Linked DNA regions of Homo sapiens: regions 2 and 3 are each linked to region 1. The links are contacts of gene promoters, found by promoter capture Hi-C in blood cells and fetal thymus (Javierre and others, 2016). All regions are on one chromosome and are shown on one strand. Each heading gives the region's core, a stretch centred on a gene start or on the middle of the fragment in contact. The rest is flanking DNA. Distances are from core to core; before and after follow the strand shown. Region 1 holds the start of ELF5 (E74 like ETS transcription factor 5). Region 2 overlaps PAMR1 (peptidase domain containing associated with muscle regeneration 1). Region 3 overlaps SLC1A2 (solute carrier family 1 member 2).

Region 1 (4,703 bases), core at 820-3,319:
TTAAAGTGATAGTTACACTTAATTAGAGTCAAATTCTTCTTTTATTTTGGGTTTATCTTAATCATCCCTTTTATCCACTGATCCAGAAGCCTGCAATTTCACACACGGGCACCCAGAAATGCTATATTATTCATTTGGGACCGTGAGACAAACAGAGTTCATGGTCTTGTACATCCATTGTCAGAAGACTTTTATACTCAAATAATTGAGTCAGTTGGGCAGCCACAGCCCCTGGGGAAAAAATTGAGCCAAAAGAGTATAGAAAAAATATAATTTCTCCAAAAGACTCTTTTTTTTTTTTGAGATGGAGTCTCACTCTGTTGCCTCGGCTGGAGCGCAATGGCGTTATCTCGGCTCACTGCAACCTCCGCCTCCTGGGTTCAAGCGATTCTCCTGCCTCAGCCTCCTGAGTAGCTGGGATTACAGATGTGCACCACCACGCCCAGCTAATTTTTGTATTTTTAATAGAGATGGGGTTTCACCAGGTTGGCCAGGCTGGTCTTGAACTCCTGACCTCATGATCTGCTTGCCTCGGCCTCCCAAAGTGCTGGGATTACAGGCATGAGCCACTGCGCCCAGCCCAAAAGACTCTTTCTAAAAACAGTATCAGAATAACATGTTTTCCCTAAAAACCTCTCCACTGAGAAGAATGTATATGTTCAGAAAGAAACACTGGTAACATTTCAGAAATCAATGACAAGATAGGCCAGTGCCCAACAATGGAAAACACAGTGTGTGGGACTATCACAGTGCACAGTCCCCTAGAAACCAAAGAGGAAGAGAAGTACAGAATTTTAAAGCTTGAAAGAGGCCCAAAGACCATGTAATCCAGTTACTTGCAAACCCTTTCTAAGGGCAGATTCTTTTGTTCAAATGAAATCTTACCCGGAAGATTTATATAAAAGCTGAGATGCTCTTATTGAGTCAGGAAGGAACGGGGTGGTCTAGAGCCTAACCCACTCTACTCCACTCCCATCCTCTCACCCGCAAAAGTCCTTGTAAGGGCTCCAGGGAGCCCCTGGGGTTCCTCAAGTCACAGTTTGAAAAAAATCACTATTTCAATCCCACTTCCTCCTTTTGCCACTGGGGAAAAATGAAGCCCAGAGAAGTCCAGGTTACCCAGCCAAGATAGGGGTCTAGGCAGTCACCTATCTTCCTTCAACAATTTTTCCATGATGACACCCCGAATCCTCTCACGAACTGCCTTTTGTTTCTGCAGACTATATGCGTATTTGTATTTGTGTGTTTGTAACCATGCCCGGTGATCCCAAGAAAACATAACAAACCAGTCCTTGCTTTCGCTTTAAAGCTTGGAGTCTGCCATTTGAATACAACATCTCGGCTGCCCAAGATGGCTAGAAGCAGAATGCAAAAAGGCACAGGGTTATAAATACCTGTCTCATAGATGACCTGGGACACTGTGCTTTGCAGCCTAAATTAGGCAGAGTTTCTGTTGTCACGAAGAAGTACTAAAAAGCGGGCAGTTCTCAGCGAGACACCTGAGAGCTGGCATCCACATGAGGAGAGGCCCCATCACTTACATTACACTCATGAAGCCCAGAGATGTTAGCTACATTTTTCTAGGTAGCACAGCTAGGAAATGATGGACACTGAATTTGAATCTAAAGGCAACTAGCTGCAAAACCTGAGGTCTTAACACTGGGCCTATAATGCTCTTCCTTCTCACCACATGGGAAAAACGGAGAAAGACATGATCTTACAAAAGCACTGGGCTCAGCCAGCCTGGGAGAGAGGCAGCGCAGACCGGCACCAGGGTGGAATCTCTGTGTTTCCCCTCCAGCTTGCACAGAGGAAAATTCCTCACCAAACGCACGATCCCCGCACAGCTCCCAGGGACAAGAATTTTCTGCTTGTTTACTGAGTCCCCTGGGCTGGGAGTGGGGGGTTGCAGGGCAGGGGTGAGCTGCGCACAAAAGCAGGATAAAGGTAAACTTTCTGCATATGAGAACCATTTCCCCCCCTCCAAGGAGCCGTGTCACACTGTATGTCACCGTCATCAAAGGGGCTGTGCGTAAACCTGAAAAACCAAACGGACCTGTCTGTAGGTGTCACTTATATCACAAGGCTACAGGTGTCTTTATTTCCACTGCACGCTGGTGCTGGGAGCGCCTGCCTTCTCTTGCCTTGAAAGCCTCCTCTTTGGACCTAGCCACCGCTGCCCTCACGTAAGCGCCTTTTCTTTGCTTTTTTGGATGAATCGTAAGGGGTGTCAGGGCTCAGAGGCTCGGCCTGGGGCCTGGGTCTGCTCGTCCATCTCCAGCTCCAGGGCCGGCACCTGCGCTGGGTGCAGTCCCAGGGCCTCCGGGAGCTGTTTGACACGGATGTGACGGCTTGCCTCAGAGAGACCTGCTTGCCTCCGCAGGCCGTGTGGCCACCAGCCCTCCTCACAGCCACCACTCCCTCTGGATCCCTTAGCTGAACCAAGGGGAATTAAGAGAACGCGCCCAGGCGCTCAGTTCTCTATCCTCCCTAAAGCTTCTTTAGGAAGGGAAGCTGGATTTTACTCAGAAAAATATTCAGCTTCAAGGAAAGCCCCCCACCTACCCTTCTCCCCTGACTGAATTCCTTTCCCCACCGGCCTGCCCACTGTCCCCCACCCCCTCGATACAGAGAACTCCCTTATTATAGTTTGGGGCATTTTCAGGAATTTGTACAAAACAGTTTTAAAAGAAACCCATTTGCCCTCTGACATCTCCCCAGAAGAGAATGCTTCCAGAAAAGCAATGGTTAGCGTTTTTCCACTGTGTTCTCAGGCCTTGTCAGACTCTGCAGTGTGTGGGGTTTCTGTGGGGTTGCCCCCTGCTGACAGCGACAGGTAGCACAAGCTCCCTCCTCAGGCTGAAGCCGGGCCTGCGTGTGGATGCCTTTTGTACGCCCGAAAGTGTGTCAGACATCACTAGGTGCAATCGCTTCATGTTACAGATGAGGAAACTGAGGCCAGAAAGGCTAGATGACTTAGGGAGGCAGCTCTGTGGTTCAGTCTAGTCCAGAGACCCAGGGAAAGGGGTGGTTTGCCCATCCGAGTGAACGCTTGATTCTGTTGTCTTCGTGTTCTCTGCAATACTGTTTTTCATAATCTAAGGTATTCTCGGGCCGGAGTTTTCAGTTTGGTCATCTCCCTTTTTCAGAAGTCACCAGAGTGGCAAATTTTTAGATACATTGTTGATGGCTGATTTTTCCCTCTAAAACAGGATTGAATATATGTATTATGCCCCGTCCTTTGCATATATCGGATTGCATGATTTAAAAAAAAAAAAATCCCCATTTTAGAGATGAGGAAACCGTAGTTCGAAGAGGGGCATGAATATTTATATACCACATCTATATGAAAAAAAGCTTAAGAATTTCAGCAGTCTGGGTAGTAAGAAATGTGCCCCACGTTCGCAGCAGCAGAGGTAGGATTTAACCCCTGATATATGTAATCCAAAACTGGTAAGCTTTGCATCGAAGCCTACAGCAAACTACATGGCATACCTTTTTGGATCTTCGCTGCACCTTCAGAAAAACAGCTACAAACAAACAAACACGCAAACTCCCTAAGCGAGCTAAAGAAAAATGAGGAATCACTTGACAAGAGGTCAGCAAATTGGTTCTCACAGTTGCTAGGGTTCCTCTCAGAAGAACAAACCCTCAAGCACCCAACCCTCAATCTTTCTTTAGCAGTAAGTGTTGAAATACTCCACTGGGTTCTCCTCAGTGGGCCCCTTCTTAGGGAGGTCCAAGGGCTGGGAAATTGACCCTCCCTTGCTCACAAGTCTTGGGACGGAGTGGACATTTGGGTATCACTGAGGCTTTAAGGAAGGAAAACCGATTTTCTTCCCAATGATACCACTCAGAGGGTGGGGTTGAGGAAGCCCAATCTTGGCCACTTTTTTCTATATTTTGCACCCTATGGCCTAGTTCTGCCCAGTGATGATTTGGCCCGTAAACAGCCAATGTGTAGATGCTTAATTGGGCCAATTTTTGGTCACATGCCCAGAGTGAAGTTGATGATCACCACCAGAGTCAGGAAGGAATTTTCCTCCTCTGGCAAACTGGCCAAGGCTGAGTGGTTTGCTCCTTCCCCTCTCTCTGGGAGGCTGAGCAGGGGTGCCGGGTTGCTCAGGCCATGGGAGCCACACCTGTTATTGCTGCCTCTGATTTGTGTGACACTGAGAAGCCCACAGGCCTGTCCCTCCAACTCGGTGGACCCTCTCTGTGTGCATTTGGTGTGTGAGCCAGCTCTGAGAAGGGTTCAGAAGCCACTGGAGGCATCTGGGGACCTCAGCTTCCATGCCATCTCTGCCTCACTCCCACAGGTACCTGCAGCCAACTTTCTCATGTGTGAAGTGAGCCCACCTGATTCCACCACCTTGTGTTAATCATTCTTGAGCTTTTCCTACTTACTAGGCAGCTAGAATGATGACTACATTTGGGGGAAACTGATTCCAGCTTCCACGGATCTATCGGTGGGCAGTGAGTGAGGGTCCAGAGTGTTTAAGGTACCCAGCTAGGCTGGGCAAAGAATATCCAGTTGTCCTGAGGTATCTACCTCCAACTGGGGTAGAAGGCAGTGGGCACAGGAGAAAAGGGAGAAGAGGAAATCAGGGAGCTTTTTCAGCACTAAAAGTTCAGTCTGTGTGTAGTGGTTGGATTTTCCTCCAATTTGGTGGACTTGCTTGACCAAAAAAATGCAAATATAA
Region 2 (4,703 bases), core at 1,114-3,613, 970 kb before region 1:
TAGTGCACAGCTTTAGATTTCACATTGACCTTTGGATTATGTAAGATCACTTTGGGTTTTTCCCTGCTTTGGGTCATATGGAAGAGTGCTCTTTCTCTGTGCACATGAGAGGGAAAGGGGGATTTGATGGGGTTGGAGTGGTAGGCAGGAGTGTGATCACGCCTTTGATATGGTTTGGCTGTGTCCCCACCCAAATCTCAGCTTGAATTGTAATAATCTCCATGTGTCAAGGGTGGGGCAAGGTGGAGATAATTGAATCATAGGGGTAGTTTCCTCCATACTGTTCTCATGGTAGTGAATAAGTCTCAGGAGATCTGATGGTTTTATAAACAGGAGTTCCCCTGCATAAGCTCTCTTGCCTGCTGCCATGTAAGATGTGCCTTTGCTTCTCCCTTGCCTTCTGCCATGATTGCAAGGCCTTCCCAGCATGTGGAATTGTGAGTCCATTAAACCTCTTCCCTTTACAAATTACCCAGTCTCAGCTATGTCTTTCTTAGCAGTGTGGGAACAGATTAATACAGCCTTGTAGGTAGGTAAGCTAGGTAAGGAATTTAGATGCTATTGCAAGTGCAGTGGGGAACCAAGGAAGAGTGGTGAAGTAGAGGATGGACCAAGTGCTCTGAGAACTAGCTAACAGAACAGTTAATGACAGGGAGAGGGAGGTAAGGTTTCAGACAGGAAGTGAAGGTTGAGCTATGCCTTTGCTCTTCAGTTGGCAGAGCAGGAAGATATTTCAGGGAGAGGGATAGTATGGTCAGGGTGTGAAAATGCAAGGTGTGTTCAAGGAAGCATGTGACATGAGGTATGATTAGAGCAAGGTGATGGTCTTGGGGTGGCAAGCCCTGACTATGAAGGGCATAGTGTTCCAGGGCTCAGAGCTTAGACATGGTTCTGAGATGAAGGATGGTTTAATCTGGGGAGTACCATTTGACAGATAACTCTTGTAGCATAACTCCGCTGGAGTGGAGGAAGACCATATCCAAAGGTAGCCATTAGGAGTGCGATTGCAGCGCTTCAGGGGATGAAGAAGGGAGACTAGAGTGAGAAGAGCTTAAAGGAAGGAGTGACAGGACTCAAGACTCACTGAAGAATGGGGTAAGGAATCTCAAGAGTTTGCCTTTCAAATTCTTAGTTTGATTAACTGTCTAGAAGTTGATGCTGTTAAGTGAGTAATAAAAGGGAAGAGGTTTGGTGGGGGAAAGAAGGTGAGTTCCACATGAGATAAGCTGGAATTTGGACATCTATAAGAGACTCTGCAGACAGTAGGAAATAAGTGCCTGGAGCTCAAGAGAATTTTGGAGACTTGAGATATGCCTATGGCTGTTATAGATGGAAGCATGAGGTGAACAGAGCACCATGGGCAGAGGAAATAGCAACAGATGTAAAAGGAAAGGAAGAGAAAACCAGGAAGGAGATGGGAAAAGATAGAGAGATAGGAGGAGAACCAGGAAGGAGTAGGGTTCTGGAAGCTGGGGGCAGTGTTTCAAAGGCAGAAAGGTCACATAGGATGAAGGCAGTAAAGAGGTTTTTGTGTTTGATGGCTAGCATGCGATTGGTGACCTGAGCAATAGCAGTTTCATATAAAATTTGGCAGGGCGCAGTGGCTCATGCCTGAAAGCCCAGCACTTTGGGAGGCCAAGGCAGTGGATTACTTGAGCCCAGAAGTTCGAGACCAGCCTGAGCAACATGGTGAAACCCTGTCTCTACAAACAATACAAAATTAGCTATGCCACTGCCACTCTAGCCTGGGCAGAGTGAGACAGTTTCCAAAAAAAAAAAAAAAAAAAAAAAGGCAAGATTTGAAGTGTGAAAAATGGACAAAAAGAATACAGACAACTTTCTTTTAAATAAGCTTAATCAAGCAAGGAAGGGGAGAATTAAGGTGATAGTTTATATGAGTAAATAAACAGCTGTGGAAAAATACCAATTAAGATGGGAAAGGCCGGGTGCAGTGGCTCATACCTGTAACCCCAGCACTTTGGGAGGATGAGGCAGTCAGGTTACTTGAGGACAAGAGTTCAAGGCCAGACTGATCAACAAAACAAGATTCTGTTTCTACACAATATTAAAAAAATTCAGCCAGGCATGGTGGTGCATGCCTGTAGTTCTGGCTACTCAAGAGACTGAGGAGGGAGAATCGCTTCTGCAGCCAAGGATTTTGAAGCTGCAGTGAGCTATGATTACACCACTGCATTCCAGCCTAAACAACAGAGCAAGACCTCATCTCTGTCTCTCTCTCAAAAAAAAAAAAAAAAAAAAAAAAGATGGGAAAGGGTTAAACAGGTTTTAAGCTAATGTGAGTAAAGTGTCAGTAGGAGAGATTAAAAATATTACATATTAGAGTAAGACTAACTGAAGAAGTTAAGACCATGTTATCCTGAAGGAGAAGAACTTCCTATGAGATCAAGAACAAAAGTGAGAGTTAAAGGAGAGGGAGCTTCCTTTTCTGTCCTAGGCTGAGACAGGAGGAAAAGAATTATTTATAGGTAGCATATCTTGTTTGTTAGTAATTATATGGTAGGAACTGTGCTGAGCACTTTATGTGCCATGTCTTGTTTCATCTGTACAATCACCCTATGAAAATACATACTCCCATTTTATAGATAATGAAACTGAGGCTCAGAGCTGTGAAGTAACTTGCCTGAGGCCGTACACTTTGGGGTAAAGCCCAGGACGATTCCAGACCCCTTACTCTTGTTCTTAACCACAGTCCTAGTCTGCCTCCTGCTGGTGAGTTCTCCCGTTTTCTCTGGGAAGTAGGGAGTGAAATATCTGCTGAGAATGAGTAGAAGTGAGGTTGGGGCTTGAAAGTACCAAAGGTTTGGGGCAGCCACTTGAGGAACAAGAAAAGGCACCAGCTGGTGTTAAGCTTAAAGCATATCCAAGCGAGACGGAGGACCCAGTCGAAGCCAGAGTTCCTAGGGAGGTGATGCAGTCAGTTAGGACGTTGGCTGATGCTCTCTGGAAGTGCAGCAGCAGAAGGGAGTAAAACCAGTTGTTTTGTTGATCCAAGAATAAGCTGAGACATGACTGACCAAGGATCCCAGCTGGGAAGGACATGAAATCAGAAAGAGCCTGGTAGAGGGGCAATAGGGACAGGAGGTCTTAAGTGGAAAAGCAGGCTTGGTGGTAATGAAGTAATGGAACACATAGGTGGAATGGGTATTATGGTCAGAGAGTAGAGTTTCTAAGTTGAAGCTTTCAGGGATGGTGGTGATAAAGTGTTCAGTTTTTTTTTTTTTTTTCTGGGTAACTAACAATCTCAAAGGACAAATGTTTGTTCTTTCTCATGGGTCTGTGAGTTGGCAGGCATTCCACTGATTTCAACTGGGCTGACCTGGGCTGGTTGTGCTCCAGGCTGCAGGGCTTAGGCAGAAGGGACAGCAACCATCAGGGGATGCTCTTCTCAGGGTGGGTCGCAGAAGCACAAGAGGTCAAGCCAAACACACAGGTGCACATAAGGCCTCTGCGCACATCACACTCACCCATATTCCACTGGCCAAAAGAAGTCACATGGCTAAGTTCCCAATGAGTGAAGTAGGGAAGTATATGCCATCCCAAAGGAAGAGGGGTGGATAAATATTTCTAAACAATACTTCAGTCGCTCCATGTGAGTAAGGGGGTTTGTTCAGGGTGCAGGGGACAGGAAGGAAAGAATATTTGCATGCAAGAAGTCAATACAGCAAATGGTAACAAAACAAGGATAGCAGTCACCCAAATGTTATGAAACAGAAAATATTAATATTCAGAAATCCTGAGCATGTGTCTTTTTAAATAGCACCTACTGGTCAAATCTTGGGTTGCACCTTGGTGTAAGACGCTGTTTATGGAGCCTCATTGATTGGGCTGGTGATTGTGTCCATTTGAGGGTCCAGGCTTTCTCAAGGACAGCAGAACTGGCTCAGAGCAACCAGTCTATCACCTAGGCAGGCAGAACAGAGAGCTCACACCTTCGTGCATTAATCTACCCATCCAGTCAAAAGATATTTCTTGAATGGATGCTTCTAGGTGCTGGATGTACAATGATAAGCCAGACGGGCATGGTCTCTGACATCTTAGAGCTTGCGCTTTAGAGAGGAGATTTTTTTTAAAGTTAAAAAAATAGAATGTGGTCAATGCTATGAAATTGAAAAAACAAACTAATGGTCAGATTCTATCCGATCTGTGTTGGTTCAGTTTTGCTTGTTCAATTACGTTATGCTTGTTCTGAGAGCCTCATTCCACACAGTGTATGTTACCACTGCCATGAGCACTGATGGAGCATTTCTTATGGAGCACTGGGCTGGTCACCAGGGAACACAATGATTCCGCAATGAGTTTACAATCCATCTGTGAAAACAGTGCTTGACCATAAGAAGACATCAATATGATGTTATTAGGTTCTTATCACCCTCACCTCATACTGGCACTAAATAAATGTGTAGGGAATTCATAGGAAGAAGTAATTCATTTCACTCTTTGTTGAATGCCTGCCTGGTGCTGAGCACTATGCTGCCTGCCTACGTTAAGGGTCGCCTACATATGGCTGGGACACAGCGCCGGAGCCCCATGGCAGTGCAAGCATTTTCCCACTAGATGGCGCCCAAGCGATCCTTTCAGACAACGTTATCCTGAAGGCGCTTCCTTCTGAGTGTCTCTGAAGAGCCTGGGCATTTTTTTTTCCTGAGTACCATACAGAGCCTTAGAAGGAGGGAGGAGTGGCG
Region 3 (4,703 bases), core at 1,045-3,544, 870 kb before region 1:
ACAAGATAGGCCTAAGAATTTAGATATTCCATGGAAAAAACAAACCTGAGAGTGTGAAAGAAATATAGCAGGGAACATGGTTAAGGTTCAGAGAAAAGAAAACTGTCATTATTTTTATTTTATTTTATTTTATTTATTTTATTTTTTTGAGATGGAGTCTTGCTCTGTCGCCCAGGCTGGAGTGCAGTGGCGCCATCTCGGCTCACTGCAAGCTCCGCCTCCCGGGTTCACCCCATTCTCCTGCCTCAGCCTCCTGAGTAGCTGGGACTACAGGCATCCGCCACCATGCCCGGCTAATTTTTTGTATTTTAGTAGAGACGGGGTTTCACCATGTTAGCCAGGATGGTCTAGATCTCCTGACCTCGTGATCCACCCGCCTTGGCCTCCTAAAGTGCTGGGATTACAGGCTTGAGCCACCGCGCCGGGCCAACTGTCATTATTTTTAAAGCTTCACTGTGTTCCTTGCTCCTGTGTCCTTTGTCTAAATTCTTCTAACTTTGATGAGCCAAATTCTACACATAGTTTCACCCAGAGAACCTGCAGGCTCAAGAAAAAAATACTATTATAATAATATATGATGATATAAGATTGGTTAGAAGATGCTAAGGAGAATCCAAGCAATCAGAGAAAAATAAAACCAAGCTCCCTGTCTTTGATATAGCACATCTTGGGGAAAGATCAAGTCAGAAAAGCAGATGGCCGGCCTGGCTCATTGTGGAATTGGTATTCTGAGATAACTTACAGGTCCCAAACCATGTCGCTGTAAGGTGTTCTGAGAAAGAACATTTGACTGCTACCCAGACCCCTCTGCAGGTTCTTCTGTTTAGGGAGAATGGGAGGCAAAACACTACAAAACCTGTAGGCTTTAGAAATAGACAGACTAGCTGTGTGACCTTGGGGAAATTGCCTAACTTCTCTGAGCCTCAGTTTGCTCACCTGGTAAAAGGGAGATAATATTTCCCTTTCAGGGTTGTGATGAGGATGAAATGGAAAAACCATCTGATATGTGCTTGTCATAGATTATCAACAGCTGTTACCTCTCTTCTATGTACTGAAAAAGCCATCTGTTACCCTAATTCATAAAAAGGAGGGGAGGGCAGGGATGGTTTGAGCTTGGACATTTTCTGGCCTTTCTCAATGACAATTTAGAATGCAGTGAGGGGAAAGCTTTTATTTTTGAATATTTCTATTTCACTGTCTCACTGGGTCACTCTGGGGCCTCTAGAAATTGTATTCTCCAGATATAGTATGATGTTGTCAGCATATGCATACATTTTTATCACTTCTTTAGTTTATCTTTGTATAAACCACATATATCTGGGAAATTTAACCAACTGCCTTTCTACAAGTGGTGTCATATTTAGGCAGATGGTTACTTTTTGGGTACACAATTGTGTAGGGAAGCCATCTTGCACTGAGACTCTGAGACCATGGGCTTCCCAGCCTTAGCATCTTACTTACTGTCACCTCTCTAGGCTTTAGAGGGGTTGATTATTGGGTTTCTAAAATCCTTCTAAATTTCCCAAATTCTATGGTTCAAAGTCTTTGTGTAACTGTCCAATAGAACAAGCATATAAGTGGCCAAACTTCTGTGATGATACTCCTTTCCCCTAAAGCCAGTGAATCTTCTGAACATTCAGAAATTGGGATACTGGTGAATATGCCACAGTGGAAATGCATAGGTAACTTCAACAAGCAAATAATCTTCAATGATGAATCAATATCTTCTAATCCACTGAGCCTAAAGCTGCAACTGTTTGAGATTCATTAAGGATTCTTAAATCTAACATGTATTTGTCATTTTGAATTATGGCCATATGCTTTGCAGATGGCCTCTGAGTGGGTCTTCCTTATTCAAGAAGGAGTAGGGTCACATTCATTATTTGTACATTACTTTTTTAAAGATTCATGGGATTAAAGGATGAAATCAGAACTCAGACAATCCAGGAGCAACCTGCGTGGATGAGAATAGTCATCTTCCATATTCCACATGGGATCTGTACTTTCAGTTAAAATATTTATATAATTATGGTATCATTAAAAAAGTCATTTCCAGATCTCACTGACTTCGTTGATGAATCACCCACTCACCGGTTTAAGTTACATGTGACAAGACAGCTTCTATTACTATTTTGTTTCTTGTTCTTGGATTCCATGAGATATCTATACTTAGCAATATGATACTCTCCTCTTTTATTTGCACTAGGGTGAACGTATTTCTCTTTCAAGCAACCAAAAAAGTCCTGGCTGGAACAGAGGAGGCGATGGCAGGCCATTGCTAAACTTTGCTGTGTTGTGGCAGTACAGTTTCTGTCCCTTTTATCTTGTTAACTGTCAGTACTCCAAACAAGCGAGTAGAACAATTGCCATCCGTTCAGCATGAAGAACCCCATGGAAGGGATCTAGAGGGAGATGTCACACCATAGATGTACTGAGTGAGATGGTATCATGGTGGCCATTCCTCAAAATATCAGCACTGCCCTCCAGAATCCACCCAGATGACATTGATCAAGCATCTACTGTAAGCCAGACACTTGGAGAGGTGCTGGGAATACAGAGATGAGAAAGACAGGGTATTTGCTCTTGGGTGGTTCATTCCATAATGATAGCAACAACTTATATAGAACCTGTTCTATGCCAGGCATTGTTTTAAATGCTTCATGTATGTTAGCTTGTGTGATCTTCAGAACAACCCCATGAGGTGGGAACTATTCTTACCATCCCTGTTTTATAGACAGGGAAACTGAAACACAGAGAATCTGGGTAACTTGCCCTAGTTACATAGCTAGTGAGGAGCAGAACCAGAATCCAAACCTAAGCAGTCAGCTCCAGAGTTGGGCTCCCCACTGGCACATTCTGCTTGTACTCTCCTTTTCTCTGATAATCCCATGACATCTTTATCTCCTTAAGCCATATAGCATTTTCTTAGGCTTATTTCTTTCATAATAACCATTATAAAAATAACAACAACAAAAAATACTTTCAACCAAAAAAGGCAGAAAAAAGGCAACACAACATAACAAAATTAATTTACCCAGGTCCCATTACTGTTGTCATTTTAGTTTATGTCCTTTAAATTTGTGTCAAACTAACATAGTATTTTCAGGCATGCTTTTTTCTTTTAGGATTATGCCAGAGTTTCCCCACTATATTCTTTTTTGACATAACTTTTAATACACTACCAGTTTGAGTGTTTTCCAGTCATGGCTACACTATACAATTGACTTAACTGATCCCTTACTCTTGGACATGCCTAAAATTCCTCTGTCATAACACTGTTGTGAACATCTTTGCATATGTATTTTTTTCTATATGTCTGATAATTTTCTTAGATGGTGTAGGCTTTTAACTTTTGGAGCGTGCAGGTAGGAAAAGCAGGATCAGTTTTCAGATTCAGATTCAAAAGAAACATTTAAGCTTTTTTCACTCCTAGAGAGCTGGAAACAATAATACCTTAAAGGTCTAAAGCATGATCTAGATCATTCACCTACCCTTTAGGAGGACTTTTTTTTTTTTTTGAGACTGAGTCTCGCTCTGTTGCCCAAGCTGGAGTGCAGTGGCGTGATCGCAGCTCACTGCAACCTCTGCCTCCTGGGTTCAAGTGATTCTCCTGCCTCAGCCTCCCATGTAGCTGGGGCTACAGGCACCTGCCACCACGCCCAGCTAATTTTTGTATTTTTAGTAGAGACAGGGTTTCACCATGTTGGCCAGGCTGGGCTTGAACTCCTGAGCTCAAGTGATCCACCCACCTCGGCCTCCCAAAGTGCTGGGATTATAGGCGTGAGCCACCGCACCCAGCCTTAGGAGGAATGTTAAAACTTATGCTTTGTCCTTTTGGAAATATCATGTATCTTCTTCCTATGAAATGGATTCATGATGTTCCATTATAAGTTAGCTAAACAAAGATTTCACTGGTCTAGTTGCCCCTGTGGCCCATCTTGAAGAATCACTCTATGGAATGATGGGCAATCAAACACAAGAGGATCAGGAAGAAACAAAATAGGTTTAACAGAATCTCTGTAATAGTGAAAATATCGACAGGTTGACAAGGACCACAGGGAAAGCACAGTATGAAACAAATGGTAAGTAAAGGTCCAACAAGTGGTGGGTGATTCAGTGAAGAGACAGCAATGCAGAGTGGTTACCACGGGCCTTGTAGGAACATGGAGCTGAGTTTGATTTCATTTCTTAGTTTCTGTGTCATCTTGCACAAGTTGTTCCATTTTTCTAAGCCTCAGTATCTTCATCTGTAAAATGGGCATGTTATCATACCTGCTTCATAAGGTTGTTGTGGGAATCTAACCAATCATGTAAGTACAGATACAGTTACTGTTTGTTGGCTTTGTGCAGGGTACTGTATTTTTACAATTTCATCATCATTTTCTTCATTGTCACTTCACTCAGTGGAAGGGGACTATGTGATAAGAGATCAGTACTCATTGTTGCAGAACATGAAATCATCATAGTTGTGTGTTTCTGGGAAAGACAATAAATTAAAAGGTGCAATATGACACTTACAAGAAATACGTACTCCCCTTTGTTTTCCTGAAGTACAAAGTAGGATCAGGTTGGAATTTCCCGCCTGTCTTCTGAGGCAAACAAGAGCAGTTTGGGGGCCTCGCTGAGGGGGCTGGTGTCCTCTGAACCAGCAGGGTAGGCATGAGTGGACAGGCTGTGGCTTGTACTTCAGTGTCCCTCTGATG

The links. Contacts are between HindIII fragments. The CHiCAGO score rates a contact against its expected background, and 5 or more counts as called.
Region 2: a contact is called between a fragment that was not itself captured here and the fragment with the promoter of ELF5 in region 1, in 1 of 17 cell types (total CD4 T cells). The highest score is 6.3, in total CD4 T cells.
Region 3: a contact is called between a fragment that was not itself captured here and the fragment with the promoter of ELF5 in region 1, in 1 of 17 cell types (total B cells). The highest score is 5.0, in total B cells.

What each region holds. Positions count from the first base shown.
Region 1 is chr11:34,511,160-34,515,862 of GRCh38, reverse strand. It overlaps ELF5 (E74 like ETS transcription factor 5), which reads left to right and starts at 2,069. Exons shown (of 7, transcript NM_001422.4): 1 at 2,069-2,186. The HindIII fragment of the contact is 1,187 bases long and covers 1,312-2,498 here.
Region 2 is chr11:35,485,758-35,490,460 of GRCh38, reverse strand. The region is part of intron 3 of PAMR1 (peptidase domain containing associated with muscle regeneration 1); the gene reads left to right. Among named protein-coding and RNA genes, the nearest start is that of PAMR1, 38 kb to the left of the region's middle. RefSeq lists a silencer at 4,473-4,522. The HindIII fragment of the contact is 1,017 bases long and covers 1,855-2,871 here.
Region 3 is chr11:35,381,611-35,386,313 of GRCh38, reverse strand. The region is part of intron 1 of SLC1A2 (solute carrier family 1 member 2); the gene reads left to right. Among named protein-coding and RNA genes, the nearest start is that of SLC1A2-AS2, 35 kb to the left of the region's middle. The HindIII fragment of the contact is 2,250 bases long and covers 1,170-3,419 here.